Linked DNA regions of Homo sapiens: all the other regions are linked to region 1. Evidence: promoter capture Hi-C in human tissues and cell types (Jung and others, 2019). All regions are on one chromosome and are shown on one strand. The core of a region is centred on a gene start or on the middle of the fragment in contact, and the rest is flanking DNA. Distances in the headings are between cores, read along the strand shown. Region 1 holds the start of TLL1 (tolloid like 1). Region 2 has its middle 64 kb from the start of TLL1. Region 3 overlaps TLL1 (tolloid like 1).

Region 1 (3,826 bases), core at 437-2,936:
CGGCCCCGGGCACGTGCGCCTCCGACCTTAGGCGGCGAGAGGGAAGCGCCGCCCCGCGCGCGCGAGAGGCTGGCAGCGGCGCCAGAGGCGTAGAAGGGAGGGGAAGGACCTGGGACATTCAGGGACCCTGCGAGGCAAGAAGCTGAGCTTCAGGCAGTGCCGGTCCGACTGCATTTCCCTGGGGTGTTAGCTGGAAGGAAGACACAAATTTGAATGGGGTAGCAACTTAAAAACATTTTTCTTTTCAGTTTATTTTAAATGGGCAAATGCATCAGAATCCCATCTAGAAGTGAGTTCTTCCGAGATTGTCACAATCCCTTTCTAGCCTGGAACCCACACTTGAAATTCCTGGTAAAAGAGGGAGCCAAGGTGTCTCCAGGTAGCAATGCCATCCTCCTGTATCTTTTGGGGAACCCTGCCAACTCGCTCTCGAACAAGCGCTGGGAAACCGCGCCCTGGGGGAGAGGGGAAAGAAGACGGTGTCCCTTCCATATGCATAAAGCCCGCTGAGTGTTGGAATTTAAAACCTACAGCAGCAAGCTATATTTACGACTTGTTTCGTTTTGCTGGGGGAGGGGAGAGGGATCAGAAACTCTAGGACCTTATTCCCAAACTGGGAGATGGGAGCTTGGCAGTGGATCCCACTGGCACAGAACTCTAGTCAACTGGGGCCGCAGCGGCTGCCACTTGCGGGTGGGGAAGGGAAGGAAAAGGAGGGGGAGAGAAGGAGGGGCGGCGGAGGGGCTGACGCGGGAGGGAAGGAAACAGGTGAGCTCCCACCGCCACCCATGGGAAACCCAGCGCAGCGGCCCCCGGCGCGCCACCGTCCCAACCTGGAGAGCCACTTACCGGCTTTACACGGGTCCTTGTAATCTATAGTCTCTGTTTTATCCTCTTCGTTCCCATCAAAAGTGTAATCATAATCGAGGCCAGCGCAGACCCATAGCTCCCCGTAGAAAACAATCCCCGAGGCCACCAGCCACACGAGCATCCTCGGGGAAAGCGTTCCCAACCCCATCCTCCTCCCCCGGAGGAAAAGGAGGGGACGGGACCCAGAGGTTAGGCAGCCGCGGTCCGCGCTGATGTGCGGGGCTAGGGGCACCGGTGCTCTTCTCCCCACCCGGAGGCTCCTCGGCGGGACCGGGGTGCTCAGGTGTCCGGAAACATGTGGATGCCGCCGGGACAGTAGAGAGGGCAAGCACTGCCTGTTACCCCCAGTCGCAGGGAGAAGTTGGCTAGGGGCCCACGGGTGGGCGGAGGGCAGGTAAGGAACTCTGCACTCGGAGGCGGGGAGGGCGCAGGCAAACTCGGCTCTGGCGGCGCTGGCGCTCGCAGCCTGCCAGGTCGTCCTTCTGGCTGCCGAACTTCCCGCGGCCGCGGCTCGGCGAGCGGCGCCCCGCGGGCTCAGCTGCCACCAGAGCTCGGACTCCCGCGCCGCGTCCCCGCTGCTGCCAGGACTCCGCGGCCGAGCGCGAGCCGCCGCCGCCTGAGCCCAAAGCCGCCGCCGCAGCTCCGAGAAGATGAATCCGGTCTGCACATCAGCACATCTGAATTGAAAGGGGAGACCGAGGAAGGGGGTGGGGGCCAGGCATTTCTACGCCGCGAGACCTTAAAAGCCTGCAGAAGCCAGCAAAGCAACTGACTGCAAGAGAGCAAAAGTGTGAGGATTTGGGGATGCACTGTTTGCCTTCCCCCCGCCAGCCTGTCTTTTTACCCTCTTCCTAACTTGAAAAAAAAAAATATTCGCACCATCTAACCCAATCACTTGCATCCTGCTTACTTATTCATACAATCAGGGTCAGGATCCGGACCACAGCCTCCTCTCTTGACTTCTTTTGATAGCCTTAGACAAACAAACAGACAGGAGCGCGCTGACAATTCCATTTATATTTTACCAAAGATAAAAATGAATATATTATGTATCTGTGTACGCAAACAGCAATTAATAGATGATGTACGTGTCAGTTGAGAGTGCCAGACCGGGGGTGGAGCGAAGGATCGTGATAACTTAGCTGCAAATCCATATTTCCCCTCCCCCCAAATAAACAGCGAGTGTGTATTTCTTTCCTTTGCTGCTGTTTAACCTTAGAGCAGCGCAGGAATGGAGGAAAAGTGTGCGAGTCTTCACGATTTTGGTAAGAAAATAAACAGACTACTGTTGGTCTCCTAACCAACAAAGTTTTGCTAAGAACTAAGATCCTCAGAACTGCAATTAAAAAAAAAATCCAAAATCGAGTTACAGATTGCAGCAGCAGGAAACGCTGAGACCTTGCCGATGGGCTGGCGCTATGGCTCACGTGGGCGCAGGAAGGGAAGCTGGATGGAATACTCGGGAAGCAAATTTTCTGTGACAGTTCTGGCGCCCATGAGCAGAGTTGCTCAGTATCCTTCGGCTTCAGTAATGTTTTACTTCTTCAGAGGAGAGGGTGTAAAACCTGGCAGGAGGGTCAGCGAGGTAAACCACATGTCAGCCGAGCAGACTCAAGACAAACACAGGTTGTGGGAAATTGGGGAGGAAAAAAATCAGAGGAAATCTCTGTAAAACCCCTGTTGTGAGCAATTCCGAGGTTTCCCCACATCTGCAAGTAGTTTCCAAAATAGGTGAGATGACTTCTCCCCCAACAAGCTTCCAAGGGACTGGTGATTGGGAGCTTTCCTTTTCCAACTAAATCTTTAAAACTGTCACTTTAGCAAGGACTTGTAAAAAAAAAAAAAGCCTTACATATTATTTGACTAGTGTTCCCCCTATCCAAGTTATCATCTAGAGGAATGTATGAAGGTAAACACACACACACACACACACACACACACACACACACACACACAACTTTGACAGATAAAGTCATCTTTGGTTTGGAGATTTTACTAGGTTTTATTCATGTTTGTTAGAGAAAAGTAAGAAGCCAATCTTGAAAAAGTACCAAGTATTTTCAACTTAAACTAAAAGTATAGGAAGGCTAGGTGGAACTGAACTGACCAAGTGTTCTTTGCAAAACTGGGTCTTTCTCAGAGGCCACTGCAATGATGGAGCTTCCCTTCCATAGATCTTAAGCTTTTAATGCCCAGGATACAGAGCAGAAGTAGATTTTTAAAAAGAACATGTTCAATAAGCAGGTAGAGGCGTTTGATTTTGAAATCTCTTGCTGAGTCATTCTCAAATTCTCTTACCCATCCAAAAAAAAAAAAGTTTGCATAATTAATAATAGTGTTGCCCTAGTGCAGAGCTCAACAAGAATATGTCCTGCTTAGCCCATCTGAAAGCCTAGAGAATGCATATGTCATCTAGAGGATTCCTGCTCTTGAGCTGCTGACAGTGTTCCCATTCCCTATCCCAAACCTTAAAAATGTCCCTTGTTAATCTAAATGCCTGCAAACATCTCCTTAGACTATTTTATCATGTGTAAATTTGCAAGAAGTTTTACCTGTGGTTTGCCTAAACATCACTTACTTTGCAGGAATAAATATGTTTTATTCATTTGTTCTGGGAAAAAAAGTACTGTATAGGGATAATAGCTTCATTATGTATAATGACACCTATTACTTTTAACATGTGTTTCATTATTTGGTTTTATAATTTTATGAATTTGTAGTCCAGAGAGTTAGAATGATTTTCATAGTAGAACTTCAAGTCAAAATACAGGAATGTTTCTTTACAGCTAATATACTTGCAGAGAATACCTACATCACAATACCCAGGCTTAATCCCTGATTTATTTTTAAATATTAAATCTAACTCTAGGTTGTAATAAGAAACTTCATTTTTTTAAACTAATTTTGTCTCTATAGTTGTTATGATTACAAACTAAAAATAGATTTTTCCTTGTCC
Region 2 (3,826 bases), core at 409-2,908, 64 kb after region 1:
AAGCACTACGCTTAGAACTGATTGTCTCATAGTAAATTCCGAGGATGGTTTGAGGGTGAATCAATTAAATTCTCTTCAGATTTATTACTTTTCTGATGAGGAATTGGATTTCATATATCACAGTAATCTTCTGTGTGTGTGTGTGTGTGTGTATGTGTGTATTACACACACAGAGACATACTCTCTCTCTCACCAGGCAAGAAGACAATAGAAATCAAATATATAAGGAGGTCTTAATACATACTTAATATGTACTCAATCATCTTATTGCAGCAAATTCTCATTTGCTATCGTTCAATTTTAAAAATAAGAATAACAAAATCTGACACTATGTTTGCCTTCCCCAGACAAGGACCAAAACTTAAACTGCTCATACAACTCTTTAAAAACTCAAATTACTTTTTCTCTTAAGATTAAAAAAAAATCTGGCTAAATTCTTTACTTTGTAAGCCTGCTACTGATTTAATTTTATTCACTGTCTATTAATTTAAAGTGATACTTAGAACTAAAAGATATTTCTCAGCACTGCTCTAGACCCTTCAGTTTTTCCAGAGGACAATACTTCTAAGTAACAAAGACAACTATTCATTTCTGCCAATGGTTTCCCAAAGGCTGTATCTTCTCAGTAGGATATGCTAAATATTTCCAACCTGTACATGAAGCAAATTATAAAGGAAACTCACACAATGAATAAAATAATTAAATTATTGTCTATTTGAATTGAGAAAGATGAGTTATGGATGTGATCAGGAAAACCAATGATTGTCTACTGCCACTTAGAGAACTTAAGTAGATCTGAAAGGATTAAACACAACCTTGGGACCACTGTGCCACAATAAATAATGATAATAATAATAATAAATTAGATAGACACTGGAAAGCACTTAAAAAAGAGTGTGTGTGTATGTATGTGTGTGTGTGATTTTATGACTTCAAAATATGTTAAGATCTCAACACATCAAAGCATTTTAATGAAATCTCTAATACGTTAGCAAAATTTAAATGGACACAGATTATCTATGCCATATCTAATCTGATGAGCTGAGAGACAACCATCACCCTGGTAGTCTCACCGTGTTTTCTCTTCAAGGCCTAAGACAAAAACTGTTTGGAAAATAATTTGTCTAGAAAACCAAATAGTAATAAATGAATGTGGATTTTATTTTTATTTGTGAATTTATTCAGTTGAGATGCCCATCAGATGGCTTGGTGGCCAAGCTTTGTACTTTAATGGGTAATAAAATTACTGTAAAAAATAATAAAAACTAATTAATTTTCACTAAATATCATGTTTTGTTAAAATGGAAACCTTTACAGCATCACTCAAATCCTTTAATTTAGATAACTTTTTCACTTTTATTTTATTAAATTATTTGTTGCCATTACAATCATTATTATCATTATAGTACTTACTGTTCCTTTCTTATTATTCATTATTATTACTATTATTATTGTCTTGAAGAAAACAGGGAAAATATATGTAACATTGAGAAGCTGCTATTTTTTATATTGTCAAAAATTTCTACCTTGTTGCTAAATGTGGTATGTGGAGATTAGACATTATAAAGGATTCCATTTGGGGAGTCCATACACTGTTTCTTCTTAGGGTGAAAGATGGGCTTGGTGTTTTAGGCTCTATCTCCCCTGGTTCTCAAGCAGATTAGACAGGAAGATGTATGGTTGGCCTCTTTCTAATATTGCAACGATAAAGGAATCTAAATGTAGATGCTTCTAAGTGAAATGTTAAGTGACTTGTTCTTTAGGGACAAAATTGGATTTTTGTTGAGATTATTATGAAGGCAACTGATATGGCTTTGATCTGTGTCCCTACCAAATCTCACATTAAAATGTAATCACAAATATCGTAGGTGGGGCCTGGTGGGAGGTGATTGGATCATGGCAGCAGATCTCTCATGGCTTGGCGCTGTCATTATGATAGTGAGTGAGTTCTCATGAGATCTGGTTGTTTAAAAGTGTGTGTCACTTTCTCACTTGCTCTCGCTCCTGCCATGTGACATGCCTGCTCCCATTTTGCCTTCTGCCATGATTGTAAGTTCCCTAAGGCCTCCCCAGAAGCCCAGAATGTGCCAGCACTGTGCTTCCTACTTATACAGCCTGCAGAACTGTGAGCCAATTAAACCTCCTTTCTCTATAAATTACCCAGTGTATTAACCCGTTTTCATGCTGCTGACAAAGACATACTGGAGACTAGGAAGAAAAAGAGGTTTAATTGGACTTACAGTTCCACATGGCTGGGGAGGCCTTAGAATCCTGGCAGGAGGTGAAAGGCACTGCTTACATGGTGGCAGCAGGAGAAAATGAGGAAGAAGCAAAAGTGGAAACCCCTGATAAATCCATCAGATCTCGTGAGACTTATTCACTACCACAAGAATAGCACGGGAAAGACCAGCCCCCATGAATCAATTACCTCCCCCTGGATCCCTCCCACAACAAGTGGGAATTCTGGGCGATACAATTCAAGTTGAAATTTGGGTGGGGACACAGTAAAACCATATCACCCAATCTCAGGTACTTCTTTACAGCAGTGCAAGAACAGCCTAACACAGCAGCATTTTCTCATTTTAGATTACTGGAAGTAGGGTAGCTTCTTCAACTTTGCATCATGACACAGCTAGGAATACAAAAGGCCAATGATGAATGATGGACATCTCTGGAGCATCAATCTTGATGGACAAGAATGATATAGAATACTTAGCATTTAGAATTGTCTCCTTTTCTTTGCATTTTAATTCCACTCTGTTTTCCTCAAGGTCTTCAATAACATTTTATTAAATTCTAAGCTTAGTGTGAGTTGAGTTTTCAAAAATTTAAGGGGAAAGCTTCTATGCACACTCAGTATGAAGTCAATTAAGGAGATTTGCTACAAAAACACAGAACTGTTGGAAAAGCCCAAAGCAGCATTCAGGAGACAGAGATGAGAGATAAATTTGTAAAAAATGTAAGGCAAAAATGAGTTAATGCTGCACATTCTCTTTTATGACCTACTTTTTCATTTAACTTGTTTTGTAAGCAAGTTGCAAGTCATGAAATAGTTTCCATTATTTTTTCAAATGTGTTTTAGCCAAGCAAACCTGTATTCAAAATAAAATTTACTAGAAAATTATACAAACATATGTTAGAAAATGTTTTTTAAAGACAAAATTATGACCCTTATGTGTACATAAAATAAGTACATCAATGTATTTATTTTACTCAATCATTAATGAGGAACTAATGAGGTGATATAGCCAGTTCAAAGGAAAATTCAAAGAACCACACATACATGCATACACAAGTAAGGAGTGTTAAAATGCACTTTCAAGTGGATGCAAAATGTCCTAATCAATTGCATTCTGTGAAGACCCACTTAATTTGCATTTCTAGGGACCCAAATAATTTGTATTATCAGTTTTCTACAACTTCCAGAGTTGTCAAATAGCTCAAGGACCATGAAAAGCAGATACGAGCAGGCAGGTGCACCTAGATAGGACACTCAATCATCTGTATTTTTAAAATCTTTCAAAATTTTTTCTGACATTTAATGAACATTTTTCATTGTTTTTTTTCTCAATGGTGTTTTAACCATCTAAACCTATGTCAAAAAATAAATATTAAACGTAAAAATCAGAAACATGAGAATGCCTCTTTGAAACAAAGAGGCAGATGGAAGGTCCACAGCTCTGTTGCCCTCCTCCTAGGTGACCTCTGTGTGTCTTCATAGAATCACTCAGGCTCTAAGGATCACACCTGAGAAACTATTCCTCCATGATGACATTTTAAAATGGCTACATACAGTTGCATCCTTGCACATATAAACATTTATTTC
Region 3 (3,826 bases), core at 630-3,129, 59 kb before region 1:
GTGTCTGATTTGTAAACACCACTTTCTGCCATCTTTACAAGGTATTTTATCACCACTTGACACAGAGGCCTCATCTTCCAACTTCTAGTTGTCAGGATAAATGTAGTCAGTTTAAGTCACATATGAAAGGCAAGAGATTAATATTTAAAAACATCATTGTATTTTTTTATTTTTTATGTCATAAAAAGTGTTTCCCAGCAGGCATTGTGCACTTAGAAATGGAGAATGAGGCCAAGCATGGTGGCTCATGCCCGTAATCCCAGCACTTTGGGAGGCTGAGGCGGGTGGATCACCTGAGGTCAGGAGTTCAAGACCAACCTGGCCAACATGGTGAAACCCCGTCCCTACTAAAAAAAAAAAAAAAAAAAAAGCAAAAAATTAGCTGGGCGTGGTGGCAGGCACCTGTAATCCCAGCTACTCGGGAGGCTGAGGCAGGAGAATCACTTGAACCTGGGAGGCAGAGGTTGCAGTGAGCCAAGATCGTGACATTGCACTCCAGCCTGGGCAATAAGAGCAAAACTCCATCTCAAAAAAAAGAAAGAGAGGATGAACGTCACCAGTGGAAGGTGGATGAGACACAGAGGAATTTCCAGTAAAACAGAAAGGAGAACTAAAAGGAGTTCATAACAATTTGAGGGATAAGAGGAGCAGCAGAGGACTCATTCAAATGTGTCCCAGCTCCCACATCAAGTGTTGAAATGGTGAAGGTTGCAGTGGAGGGGAGCTGCTCGGACATACTGGAAGAAAAGCAGAAGTGGAGAGTGCTTGAAAATCTGGGAGGGAAGTGTCTGTGGAGCGGACCTGCTCTGAGGTGGTGTGGTCCTGTCAGAATAAAAAGACAGGGCTGCTATTCTAGGTAAGAAGCCATCCACGCTAGCACTCCCAGGCCCTCCTCAATTCCCATGGGCAAAGATGACATTTGGGATACTTCTCTAAGTCCTGTGCAAGAGGCAGAAGGTACCTGATATGGCTGGATAAAATTTCCAAGGATGGTCACTGCAACAGAGTCAAAGTGGTTCTGAAATTAATAGCTGATGGACAGGCTGCCAGGATGGAATGGACTGCAGACCTCGAGATGCGCCATGATGATGACGGTCTGTGCAGTCTGCCTCAGCTGAGACACACACCCATCATCCCTGATTTCCATAGTGAACTGTACGGGCACAACACCGGAATCATTGCCTCCCAGGGGAGGCCAGAGAGAACCTGGGGAACAACACTCAGATCTGAGGCGTCCTCTCCCCACAAGACCATGATGTCACAGGACAACACTGGGCTCTATGTACCCAGATAACATCTCAGGGAGTGTATGGGGGGAGATTGATCTGACAGGGAAGTGAATCCACTGAACAATTATGCAGAATGAGGCAGAGATAACTTGATGCTTTAAGTACCCATTACTGCAATCAACACCACCAGCAGCAAACAAAGTAGGCTTGAAAAATACATGTGATAGGCTAGAGTATTGGTTTTGCACATATAGTACAGTATAAAATTGTGATGTCTCATGCAAGAATATTTTGAGAAAGTTCATATACTTAAAGATGTTTTAACTTTCTAATCGGAAGCTGTAAATGTACCCCGGTAACATAAGTGTCTTATGTATAGTTGATGAGAGTGGTATTATATCCAACTGGAATTTACACTGCAGCTTTAACAGCTCTTTTCCATACATTGAACAATTCAATATCACAATTTATTCCACAGTTCAGCAAGTTTATTGTCTCGGAGGAAGTTTAAATGGTCAAATCAATGCATATAAAATAGAAGGCCTTTTTTGCAGAGTCAAGCAAACAAGGAATGCAACTGACTTTAAGTGATGTTTTAAACACTTTTCTGACAAGAAATTCCAAATCTCTTCAATAACAACAGATTACAAACAAACTCTAAAAAAAAAAAGAAGAAAATCTGAAGCTTAAATATCAGAACGTCCAGTTAAAAGCAGTACTAACTTCCCATTCTGTCTTCATTTCTAGCCCCATGACTGAGCTCCATCCTCAGTTACGCACAGTTACTGCAGATGCTGATAGGCATTCCCAGTCTGAAGGATTTATAAGTCATCCTTATTCACTAGCCTGCCTTTTGCCTTGATGTAAACAGTTACAGTGGTAGAACTTTGCAAAAATGGTATTAATCAGGAATGAGGAATACTTTCTATTAGAAATACTTCCTGTTCACACAACATTTTTTAATCAACTGAGAAACGCTCAGTATAAAGAAACAACCTGGAAGAGATGGTGCTATGTGGAACAAGTCACACAGCGTTTTCAGAGTTAAAAGCATATAATACATGTCAAATAGCTGAAACAGCAGTGCTTGGGTTCATAAAAGCAGAATAGGGTGAATCTCGTAAGTGTGGACTGCCTAACTAGGAGACCTTCTGATTTTGAATGTCTCTGGTGGTGTTTCTTACCTTTGCTTCTCACCTCTTTTTATTGTATCCTTTGTGCTTTCTCAAGACAAATTCCAGAGTAGGCGAAGAAGTGGTGTGACATACGGAACTGCAAACATCTGCTTATCACCTACTTGTCCAACCATCACCTGGCTTTCCAGCAAAGGAAAGTCCCCACTAGGGCTTCTACTCACAACCAAATTCTGAGTCACTCGCCTGACCTCCTTGCTAATCAACTTAGCATAGCTTCTACTTTACTACTAAATGCCATACATCTGCTTATCAATTATCAAGCCACCTGCTAAGAATTTGTCTTTGCCTCAGGGCACTTTCTCTTAGTGCAAGTGTGGTATCGTGAAATGAGCTGCTCAATGGAGAACTACCCCGTGCAGTATCTGAAGTTAATCATTGCAATTTCTTTTTTTTTTCTTTTGAGACAGAGTCTTACTCTGTCGCCCAGGCTGGAGTGCAGTGGTGCAATCTCAGCTCACTGCAAGCTCCACCTCCCTGGTTCACGCCACTCTCCTGCCTCAGCCTCCCAAGTAGCTGGGACTACAGGTGCCCACCACCACACCCGGCTAATTTTTTTTGTATTTTTAGTAGAGACGGGGTTTCACCGTGTTGGCCAGGAGGTCTCAATCTCCTGACCTCGTGATCCGCCCGCCTTGGCCTCCCAAAGTGCTGGGATTACAGGTGTGAATGACCACGCCTGGCCAATCACTGCAATTTCTAATCACAGCTGAATGTTTTTAACTTTAAAGGATGAGAAAAGTAAACCCAAAAGAAACCTAACTGTATAAAGTTAAATTAGGCATAGAAGAAGCTTGAGAAAATTAAATTAAGCTCAGAACTGAAAACTATCAAATTCCTATTCAAGATAACTCTCCTATGCTATTAAAACTATTCTCTATCATTTTTAATGCTTTAATTATGGAATATAGTCGAATGCCTTGGCTTTATGATCTCAATAAATATAATTATTGTTGTGTCCATAAACCTATGAAATAAATTACAAATGATATTTTATAAGTTGTTTTTCTTACCTATTCTTCAACTTTATTTACAACAACAAAACACATAATCTATGAAAGAGAGGTAACAATTATCCTACTTTAAATGGTTGCTGAAAAAAGAAATGTAAAATTACTTAGAACAGTGCTTGACACCCAAGGAGCACTTTAGAAGCATTTGCTATTGTTATTGTTATTTATTCATTTCCCTAACACAACCAATAACATACTATTCAAGATCACTTTACAGTCACTATACTACATATATGCATATGTTTTTTTCTGGAGTGCTTATAAATTACAAGAAGTGTTTCTTTTGACATTATTTAAACAATTGCATTTTAAAAGAATTTCTCAAGTATTATAAAGCAAATATGATGAGAAAAACGTATTTGTTATCACTTTTTCAAAAGAAGAATTTCAT

What was found. Contacts are between HindIII fragments. The study calls those that stand out against the background at their distance.
Region 2: a contact is called between a fragment that was not itself captured here and the fragment with the promoter of TLL1 in region 1, in 2 of the 25 tissues and cell types used here (heart left ventricle and hippocampus).
Region 3: a fragment that was not itself captured here is called in contact with the fragment with the promoter of TLL1 in region 1 in 1 of the 25 tissues and cell types used here (dorsolateral prefrontal cortex).

What each region holds. Positions count from the first base shown.
Region 1 is chr4:165,871,097-165,874,922 of GRCh38, reverse strand. TLL1 (tolloid like 1) reads right to left here and starts at 1,686. Exons shown (of 21, transcript NM_012464.5): 1 at 850-1,686. The coding sequence starts at 1,018. The HindIII fragment of the contact is 12,105 bases long and covers 1-2,839 here.
Region 2 is chr4:165,807,174-165,810,999 of GRCh38, reverse strand. No RefSeq gene overlaps it. Among named protein-coding and RNA genes, the nearest start is that of TLL1, 64 kb to the left of the region's middle. The HindIII fragment of the contact is 4,870 bases long and covers 1-3,826 here.
Region 3 is chr4:165,930,718-165,934,543 of GRCh38, reverse strand. The region is part of intron 1 of TLL1 (tolloid like 1); the gene reads right to left. Among named protein-coding and RNA genes, the nearest start is that of TLL1, 59 kb to the right of the region's middle. The HindIII fragment of the contact is 5,422 bases long and covers 1-3,826 here.